2 separate regions of the Homo sapiens genome follow, and region 2 is linked to region 1. Evidence: promoter capture Hi-C in 16 types of primary human blood cells and fetal thymus (Javierre and others, 2016). All regions are on one chromosome and are shown on one strand. The core of a region is centred on a gene start or on the middle of the fragment in contact, and the rest is flanking DNA. Distances in the headings are between cores, read along the strand shown.

Region 1 (5,529 bases), core at 1,721-4,220:
GGCCTCCCAAAGCAAAGTGCTGGGATTACAGGTGTGATCCACTGCACCTGGCCTATCTGACACATTTTTAAGCAAGTGTGTTAAAGGTGGACAAGAATGAAGAGTTACCATTTTCACGCCAATCCTGAGCTTTAAACTTCACAGACATAGTGACAAGTATTGATTTCTTGCATATGCAGAATTTTACTGAAGATTTCCCATATAATTTTCAACAGAAAGATCATTTTTGAAAGTACAAGATTATGTTGGCTTTTTCATACAATGAAGTACACAATAGCAAACATTCCTAAAACAAAGGTGATCTTTCCAATAGTCTTCAGGACATGTTAAGTCTCTCTGTTACTGAAGTGGCATTCCCTTCACCAGGAAGCTGTCTCCAACTACTTGAGCCAATATTAACCTTTTCCTTCATAATCACATCAGTTCTGGCCAACATCCTACCACTGGAAAAATGATTGTACGAGGTCTTATGTTGGTCTCCAATTGTTTTCCATCTATGTTTTACCTTGTTAAACAACTGTAAGCTTCTCAAAAGAGGTTAACTATTTTTTTATTTAGCACTTATTACACAATATAATGCTGCACAAGAATACAGAAAATTTCATTTAAGAAGACTAGTGTTCATATATTTGATTTCTAGTCCTCTTTCTGAAGTGTTGTTTCTGCACTTAGGATAGCCCCATGAGTCCAGGTGTTGACAAACAGAAAGAATCAAGTTTTGGAAAACCTAAACAGAAACATCATCACATTCAAAAACTAAAACTGAGAAATTAGATACTGATCTGAAAATTGCTTCCCTTCTCTAATAACCATAGCTACCACTAACTCGCCTCTCCTCTCCCCATCCCAACACACTCAACTAACCGAAAAAAATGTACGGATAATTCATGCACAACATGCAAGAATTCTTTGCCCAAATTTTCAAGCTAACTACATTCTTTGCCCATATTTTCCTACTTGAGTATAAGAAGGAAAAATATAGGATGGAAGCTAGTCTTTTGAAGTCTACTACTTGCCAGGTACATTGCTAGCAATTTTACACACGTCATAGCATTTATTATCCATATTTTGCCAATGAGACAATTGAGGCTGAGTTTTAAAAGATGACCTAAGGCCAAAGTCTTTGGCTCCCCGCTCCACAACTACCCTCAGCTGGAGTTTGTTCCACAGTTCAGTCGCTCATTGAGAAAACATTTATTGAGGGTGTATTACAAGCTAGTCACCCCTCTAGGCATTGGAGGTCACTCATTGAGAAAACATTTATTGAGGGTGTATTACAAGCTAGTCACCACTCCAGGCATTAGAGTTTTGAAAGTATGCAAGACAGAACAAGCCCTGCTACTCTCATAGAACTTACACGCTAGAGATGAAAGAAAACAACCAAACAGGATAAGTTCAGAGTTATAATAGTTTGCCAACATGAGTTATGCACAATAATCATCAAATCTTTTAAAATATCTACAATGAGATTAAATAGTTACAAAAAAAACTAAAGGGGGTGGTAACACTCACTAACAATTGGTAACACTGTGGCCCTTTTGTCAATTCCTGAACCAAGCCATTGCATCTTTGAATGAATCACAAGGGAGAAAGAAGGAAGCAGAGCTCTAATGCTGTTTAGAATTTCTTTATAAAATAAAGTGACTCTATAAGCTATGAGAATGGACAGTTGCAATGAATCCATTGTTGGTTCTCAAACCCAAAACCCCATATTTACCCATTTATTCATTAAAATATTGCTGTATTATTTCACGAGTTGATTTGTAAAAGTCAAGGGAGTGTTGTAATTTGACATAACGCCCCTGTGAGAAACAGAGGGGGGTTTCAACATCCACATCACAAGGTTCCCCAGACTGCACACGGTCTCCATTGGGCAATGGCATCCAGATGTCATGTGGTAGCCAGCAAGAACTGTAGGACTGGGACTAGAGTGGTCAGTAGCTACGAAGAAGTGCCTGGGCCCAGTGTGACAGCTGCCAGCACCGTCCACACGCCAAAAAGAAACTTCACATCTCTTTAAACTTGGAACACATGCAAAATACTAACAGTTTTGTTTTAGCAATAAAGACTCCCTGTCACTTACTAACTTCCTTCCCTCACCTATTTATACAAGTATAAGTTGACTAGCTGCTATTTCTATAGCTGCCTCCTATGATATTTATAATGTGTTGTGTGTGATTTGGGTTGCCCATGTCACTAACACTTTGCAAGAATTTGTGTTTGTAAATTACTCTGGAACTCTTCTGGGAGTGAATATTCCACTGCACAAGGTGGAAGCCAGACTAGAGACCATCTGCTAAGAGCAGCACTTCATTCACCCAGCTACACCTTCCTGCCAAAGCACTCTTTGCAAATCTATTTTTGCTGGTAGAAGTTACTACATAGGGAGTGGAGGCTGTTTTAAGTTATCAGTGTGCACCTTCCATTTCCTCCTAGGACGGTCACACGCCAGCAGCTGAGTTTCTCAAAGAAGCCTCAGCCCTCCTCCAGACTCGTTCTCACTCTTGCTTCGGAAGGGAGCAACAATCCTTATCAGACTAGCCGCATCTACAAGCTAAAAGTTTGCATGAACTTTCAATGGGGTACCAACCCTCGCCCCAAAAGTCCTGCCACTTTACTATTTTACAAATGCCGCCTCCAAAACATAAACAACGAAACCCTAGAGAAGAGCGAATCCATCTTCTGCTGGTGGGAAGAAATTCTAAATCTTTCCCGTTTCCCGCCACCACCTACCGCCAAGACTGGAGTCCCAGAACACTCGCCCGGGTCAGAAAGGGACCACTCCCCCCCTAGAATACTAGAGGCGGGGGAAGGGGTCTCCCAGGAAGCACACACCTGAGATAGATCCTCACGCGCGAGGGGCCAGCGGGCAGGAGCACCCAGTTCCTCCAGCCAGGGTGGAGTCGGCCTCCCCCCAGAATCAGAGCCTCGGCCCGGGTGCTCCCAGCGAGGCGCGCGGGGCTGTCACTCGAGGCGGGCTGGGCGGGTGTAACTCGAGCGCCGGGCGGGCCGCGCCCCCGCCTTCCCTCTTCCCGACTTCCTCCTCCCGCTCCCGCGCCTGCTCCCTCCCGGAGGCCTGACCAGGGCGGCGAGGCCGCCACCTCCTGCCCGGATACCTCGGGCCCAGGCTCCTCCGGCCCAGCGGGGAAACGCGGAAGTGGGGGCGGGAACCGGGGCCGGGGTTGGCGGGGGTGTGGGAGGGAAAAGCCAACAGCGGGCGGCGAGCGAGGTGGTCTCCGTGGCCCAATGAACGTGACTAGACGGGGACGCGGGTCCTGCCGCCGGGTGGGGTCGCGCAGCGCCACACGCAAGGGCCCTCGCCCCTGGCTGCAGTTCCTGCTTTGTGCCTCGGCGATGCCGGACTCCAGACCTCCGCCCCGCCTTGCCAGCGGGCTGGCGGACTGGAAAGCCTGAGCTAGGCCAGGCTGGGGAAGACGGTGGCGGTGTCCGATTTCCTGTGCCCTCGCCCATGCGGGCCGCCCTGGCCATCTGCCTGCGGGAGAGGAGACACTCGTCCGCCGGCACGCTGGCGGGGCTGGCTTACCTGACGACTTCTCGTTGTCCGCCCTGGGATCTGGCTTCTCCTACTCTGTACCTCCCGGCCGGCAGGCTTCCCTAGGCCTACAGACGTGTCCAGGAGGCGGGCGACCCTGCGACCCCGCCGTCAGAGCCCAGAACCCTCGCCCGGCTCCCCCGGCGGGCTCTGGAGGCGCGCCAGGCCTCCTGGCTCCCCGCCTGAATGTCAGCGCAGGGACCCGCAGGGAAGACCAAGCCCAAGCTCCAGGGGGTGGAATGCTGAGCACAGGTTCCCCAGACCCAGCCTCATACAGGTGGGGGGAGGCGGAGAGCCCCGGCAGCTGAACAGCAGGCTTCCCACTTGCAACCCCCCGCCACCCAAAAAAAAAAAACGACCCTGCCCACTGAGCATGCCCAGCTTACTTGTTGGAACTCCTAGGGCTAGACAAGCCCAAGGGGACCTAAGGAAGGCAAAGTTGGGGCTCAAATGGACCCCACTTCTTTAACAGCTTTGCTCCGAAGACCTCTGGGTGCTGTACTAATAACCTTTCTATCGTGGTATTGGAAAATATCCAGGAGATGGACGGAAATGCCTTTCCAAAAGAAGGAAGAAAATTAGTGTGAACCAAAAAGCAGTGGTATTTTTTTAAATAAAGTATTAAGTCACTCATTTAATGTCCTTAAATACCGCAGAATTCCTGTAGTTGACCCAGAGGAATGCATATATTTATTAAATCCCAAACTCAGTAACTTCAGGGAACCATCCATAGTCCACAGAGGAGCAATGATTCTCACCCTTGGACACATTAAAATTGGGGGGAGGGGGCAGGGAGGGGTGGAATGCCAGATTTCCATCCCCAAGTCCAATGAGTCAGTCTGGACGTGGGATCTGCAAGTCCTTGTATTTTAAAACTGGCTCTAAAAGTGTAGTCACTGGAGCCCGCAGCATCAGCATCACCTGAGAACTTGACAGAAACTGTACTCCAGTGACCTGATTCATAGACTCTGGGGCTGGGGCTGAGCTACCCAGATTTAACAAGCCCTTTGGGTAGTTCTGATGCACATTAAAGTTTGAGAACCACGGTTTAAAAGCTCCCCCAGTTGAATCATGAGCAACCAGAAAAAGGAAATTGTAGTTGAGAAAAGAAAAATAGTTCAGAGCATTTGAGCAATGTGAGGTATGCAAAATTTATCAGGCCCAGAGAGACCTTGAATATGGGACATAAGTTGCACCCCCCACACTCATGCTCAGAGGCGATTGTTTAAAGGCATTTTGTTCATGACTGACTACCCAACCATATCTTCATGTTCCTGGAATTTGTGATACGAAGAACAATCTATAGACAATTAATAGTTTGTTTTTTTATGTAAATTATTGGTAAACAATTTAGAAACTGCCTCTTCTTTTCCTTTAAAAACTTCCTTGTGGCCGGGCAGGCGCAGTGGGTCACGCCTGTAATCTCAGCACTTTGGGAGGCTGAGGTGGGCAGATCACGAGGTCAAGAGTTCAAGACCAGCCTAACCAACATGGTGAAACCCTATCTCTACTAAAAATACAAAAATTAGCCGGGCATGGTGGCAAACACCTGTAATCCCAGCTACTCAGGAAGCTGAGGCAGGAGAATCACTTGAACCTGGGAGGCAGAGGTTACAGTGAGCTGAGATGGCACCACTGAACTCCACCCTGGGCAACAGAGTGAGACTCCATCTCAAAAAATAAATAAATAAAAACTTGTGACTGGGCAACATCATGAGACTGGTTATATTAAGTATGCCTCAGTTCTTTTTTCTTTAGTTTGACAAATCAAACCAATATTTTTATCATTTTTTTCAAACCCTCATCATTTATCTAGAAATGCAACATGTTACCCAGAAAAGGAATAATCTGGTTGAGTTGGGTGCCAGTCCTGGATTTCCTTCTCACTGATTATCCCAGATCAGTTCAGTGCTTGGGAAATGGGACCATCAGTTACTCACTTTTGTACTCTAGTGCCTAGCATAGTGCCTGAATAT
Region 2 (5,529 bases), core at 2,161-4,660, 610 kb before region 1:
AGCAATTCGTAGTTCTAATATAGTGAATGTAATAGATACATGTCTGTCTGTCTAACAACAGAAGCAATTAGCTTTGTTAAATCTTCTACTCCACCTAAATCAGCAATTTCAGATGCCTCAGGAAAAGAATATATGGGAGACAGCAATCAGATAGGAAAAGGGAAGGTCGGAGGAAAAGTGGTCTGCTCACTCTCTTGCTGTTCCCTGACAGTTTGTGAATTCAGTCCTAAAATGATTAACATAATTAAAGCTGTATAAACATTGCTTATTTATCTTACTTTTTAAGGGACTTTGCTGAGACTTGTTCCAAAAACAAATCAACCCCAGGGTCAATTATTGACTAAGCCAATGCATATTTTTAAATGTGAGATCATAGACAATATATAATTAGTAGAAAATAAAATCTTCTTTTCCATTTTCAACTCCTCATTGTCATACCATTTTCTCACCGTTCCTCACTCATAAAAATAGAATGAAAATTTACAGAGGTACTCAATGCAGTATTAGGGTCTGTTAGAGTCAGTGAACTCTCTTCCACCAATCTTACACACAATCACTGTATGTTGACAGTTTTTGTGTTTGAATATGACTTTATCTCTTTTTAGAGTGTTTATTCAGTGTCCTACTTATTGGATCACATTTCAGAATCTGAAAGTAAGCAAAGAAAGTTTCTTAGAAGTCAAAATAGCTATGCACACCTAATACTCGTGGCCTCCATAAGCACCTACTTTTATTTAATGTACATATTATATGATTTAGTTGTCTACTCTCCAAGATCTTAGCAGATTACAGACATATTGATTATAGTACAATGATAATTTGACAACTTGCACAAAGAAGATTCTTGGGCTCAATAAGTGTGTAAGCAATCTGGGCACAAGAATGTCACAATGTTATAGCATTAATCATCCTTTGTACTTGATGATTGTAAGTCATCAAGAAACATTAAATTATGGTTAAAGTATATGGCTTTAGGAAGATCAAATCAGGGCCAGGCATGGTGGCTCACACCTGTATTCCCAGCACTTTGAGAGGCCAAGGCGGGCAGATCACAAGGTCAAGAGATCGAGACCATCCTGCCCAACATTGTGAAAACCCGTCTCTACTAAAAATACAGAAGTTAGCTGGGCGTGGTAGCATGCACCTGTAGTCCCAGCTACTCAGGAGGCTGAGGCGGGAGAATCGCTTGAATCTGGGAGGTGGAGGTTGCAGTGAGCCAAGATTGTGCCACTGCACTCCAGCCTGGCAACAGAGCGAGACTCTGTCTCAAAAAAAAAAAAAAAAAAATCAAATCAATATAATCAAATAAACAATTATTGCAATTATTGATGACTACTATTCAAATTTTATCTTTAACATTTCCCCATAACTTACTCTTTTCACCATTTTATGGATGAGGAAACTGAGGTGCAAAGAAGTAACTTTCTCAAGGTCACAGGCGATAAAGTGGCAGAAGTAGAGAGTAAAGCCTGACCACAAAGATGTTGCTCTTTCTGCAACTCTACTTTGCCTCAAGAATAAGATTTTCTTTCCATTTGAAACCATATTTGAAATTACATAGTCTAGCATCTCCAGTTTACAAATGAAGACATAAGAGTGAAAGAAGAAAGTTATTAGCCTAGGACAATGTAATGAATGAACCCAGAACCTAGATTCCTGATCTCACAGACCAAAGTTCTTTGCATGCTGCCATGTTGCTGACTGACATTGCCCCTGTCAATACCAAGTTCTCCTAACTCCCTGCCTGTTCTAATACCCAGTCTTGGATTAATAAAATTGATGAATATTGTTGTAGACATACATAGACTGATGCTCTACAAATCCAAGGTCTTTCGCTAGTCAAGACACTTACAGCTGCTTGTAATCTTGTGATATTTTTGAACTATTTCCCTGTAATCAATATCATAGTGTCCTGGGCTTCCAAGTTCCCACAGCTTCATATCTTCTGGCAAATTCACCTAGTTTACTGAGTTCAAAGTCATCCAATGTGAACTCTAACTTTAGCCATCATCTCCATCTCAGAATTTTTGTGTGGACCCTTCTCCCAGCCTGTATGTAACAAAGAAGAGTTTTGCATCATTATCATATCTAGTTCATTCTGTTGCTCATTACGTTTCATCTGTCTTGAAGGAACTTGCTCCCTTAATTTCTAAGACTCACTCCTTCCTTCCAAGCATGTAACATTCTCCAGCTTCACTTATCTCTAGAATTATGTCATTCCACTCACATCTCTTTTTTATTTGACTTCAAAATTCCTCAATAATACAATGGGTTCTCTTCCTCACTGTTCTTTCTCCTCTTCTCTTCTTAACCCATGAAAATGTAGTTACCTAGCTATTCTAGTTCAATAGAAATCTCCTGTTCACCAAATGAAATAGTCCTTACTCTGTTCTCAATATTTGTTTTTCTTAAGCTCTGTTGAGTACCTGCTGCTCAAATCTGTCTGTTGATAAGACATTGATCTTCCTGGCTTTTCTCCTATGTTCTTGGCCACACATTCTTCATTTTCTTCTCATTTATTCTTTCTCCCACTCCTTACGAGTAGCCATTTCACCATCTCTTCTTCCTTATTCCTGTATTTTCTTCCTTGCTGATGTCATTCACTCTTATAGCTTTAGCCATCATCTTCCATGTAGATGACAAAAATAGTCTATCTTTAGCTTTAACCTTCATCTTCAGCCTGGAAATTTCTAGCTACTGCTACATTTTCTTTTGATGTTTACTGACACCTGAAACTTTCGACACACCTACATCTTAACTAACTTATTCTGCTAAACGTTCTCTTGATGTCTCAATTTCTGTCATTGCAACACCATCTTTTGAGGGACCTAGGCTCTATGGACATGCAGGATCATCTTCAGGTATGTGACTTTCCTGAAATAAAGTGCAAAATGTTGTATTCGTATTATTTTTATATAATTTTATCTGAAGAAAAGTTTTAGAAATTTTTATCATCTTTTCAAAGAGTTCAGAGAGCAAAAAAATATCTTAATAGCCACTGCTGGATTTAACATCTATTTTTCTCCTTGTGTGAAAAAAAGAAATGCCTATAGGTAAGCTTATAAATTCAAATTTTTGGATAGCTTTTGCAATCCGTGTGCTTATATTTCTTAGCTATTATATGCCAGAATAAATTATCAGTTGTTTGGTTTTGCTCAGTAAGAGAGGATAAGCAGAACTTTGTCTTCCCAAATAGAAATCACATATCTTGGATTATGACTTACTGTATAAAATTATGATGTTATCTCTAAATTTTAAAAATATATCCATCACTTTGTCTTTGTTGTTAAATACAGGATTTGGCTATCAAAAGAAATTACACTGTTTATGTGTACAGGCAGCCTAGTTTTGTGTTTATCTCAAATCAGGAACTCATGTGTAAAACTAAAAGGTCAATTTGAAATATCTAGCTATTTGACATCAGATGGATAAGGAGGAATTACACTTTCAACCAATTCAACTGTTACAATATTAGGGTAACTATTTTAAGAAAATATATTTGAACCTATGTTTGAATGAACTTGATTGCTCCTTGTATGAAATGACATCAAAAGCGAAATCTATTCTCTTTTTACACACAAATTATGCTCAAATTTGGTAATTTTTTTTCAGTTTGCTTCCTGAGGATTAATGGCATGTAGACATAACTTTGTGATTAGAAAATTAACCACACTGTTGTGTTCCTTGCTTTCCTTTTTATGTGGAGTAATGCTGTTTTGCATTGGTTCTTATATTGTTTATCATTGTATGAAACAAAGCTTACAAATTAGATTTCATCTCCTATAAATTAGTGTATTTATATTTTCCAGGCCAGGGACTGTTAGGTGCCAAGCCACAAAGGAGAACAAGACAGCTCCTGTTCTTAAGGAGCAGAGTCTAACAAATATGTATCCACCTTGAAAAATATTGTTGTATTTATACTAGTATTATTACTGTTATTCATTTTTAATGATTATTATACCTAGTTCTAGCAAAAACACAACATTTTTTACAACAGTACATATTACTCAAAAAAGAAATGATATTCTCTTATATAAACAAGTTTTCTTTATAAAGGTAGAGAAATGTGTCAATTTTCTCCTTGAACTTCTGCCACCTTGTAATCAGGAACTAATTAATTAATTAGCTAATATTTTTAAAGTGCATTGAAAATGAGCTGTATCATAGAAATGCTAAGTATTTTAAAGCCTTGCGTTGCCTCATATATACCAAATAGGCTTTCTTAAAGTTTGTAAAGGACAATTTGAACAAATTACATTTGGTTAAAGGAAAAAGCTAGGCGTATATTGAAGACAGGTGTAGTCAGGAGTAGGAGAAGTTGGAATGGGAAAGTGCAAATGTAATCAAGAGAAGGAAAATGATTCTTTACTTTTATCTCCATTTATCATTATCAGAAAACAAAAGAGATGTATGTCTTATAAAATGCTAAAAATAGAATACAAATTTATCAAAATGAAATAGTACGATAATTGTTCTTATACTTACGAAGTTGTTAATAGAGTTAAGTCAGGACTTCCTATACAGGTGATTATTTTATAATGCTCTTGGAACTTAACTCCAAGGCCAAAACATCCCATTTGGAATATTGAGCTATATCTGCACTGCCTAATCATGGATAACAATCAGCCTCTTCCTTCTCCATGATTTTCATGTCCAAAGACTGTGCCAATGCCTGGGGAGGACAAAGGAAAGAAGAATCATGGCCAGTGCCCCCACACTGATAAATGTGGAAAACCAAGCCACAGCAGTCACGCTTCAATATGAGATTTCAAACCTAGAGAGTTCTCAAATGGGGTAAATTGCTCAAGTACTTTTTTAGACCCAGACTTACTTTTGTGATTTTTAAACATGATCATGTGGAAATTCAACTTTGCTAGAAATTATATTTGTTTCAGTTTAGTGGTGGTGGTGTTGTGCAATCTTTCCACACTTCTCTTTCTTTAAAGCCAATGAGAGAGATGGCCCAGAACATAGAAACAGAAGGCAACCGCAAAACATTGTTATGGTACTATTTTCACTCCTCAGGTATTATTTGCAGCATTTGCAGATCACTGCTGGTGTTCTCTCTTGTGAATATATGAGGAATAGACCTGACCCACAGAGTTAACTTGGCTAAGTGAGGTTCACTTGGCTAACTTGAGTTTGGCCTCAACTTGACATCATCACTGTGGGCTCAGCAAAGTGATTGCTCACAAGTAGACTGTGCAATATGCCCTTTTACCTCCTCCGAGGCCATAAATTATCACCCCAATAGTATACGATCATATCTTTTTCTACGTCACTTAAGGCAGATTAAATGGCGTCATCCAGTCTTTCTTACCTTTACAATTCTCATAAGCCATTTGGCCGATGTAGAAACTGAGATATAGAGAGACTGAATAGTTTCTCCAACCTCCTATATGTAGCAAAAACTTGGAGTTGAACATAGATGTCTAATGCCAGAGCCAGAGTCCTTAACCAATATACCATACTCTCTACCCATAATAATGATAATTACTAACACTTATCTAGAACCAGTGCTTTTCCAGT

The links. Contacts are between HindIII fragments. The CHiCAGO score rates a contact against its expected background, and 5 or more counts as called.
Region 2: a contact is called between a fragment that was not itself captured here and the fragment with the promoter of GPD2 in region 1, in 1 of 17 cell types (endothelial precursors). The highest score is 7.9, in endothelial precursors.

The regions. Positions count from the first base shown.
Region 1 is chr2:156,433,820-156,439,348 of GRCh38, reverse strand. It overlaps GPD2 (glycerol-3-phosphate dehydrogenase 2), which reads right to left and starts at 2,970. Exons shown (of 17, transcript NM_000408.5): 1 at 2,836-2,970. RefSeq lists silencers at 2,849-3,258, 3,699-3,868 and an enhancer at 3,409-3,458. The HindIII fragment of the contact is 5,965 bases long and covers 527-5,529 here.
Region 2 is chr2:157,046,046-157,051,574 of GRCh38, reverse strand. The region is part of intron 1 of LOC105373710 (a long non-coding RNA gene); the gene reads left to right. LOC105373709 (a long non-coding RNA gene) reads right to left here. Exons shown (of 4, transcript XR_001739755.2): 3 at 4,486-4,672; 4 at 1-2,874. Among named protein-coding and RNA genes, the nearest start is that of GALNT5, 210 kb to the left of the region's middle. The HindIII fragment of the contact is 700 bases long and covers 3,061-3,760 here.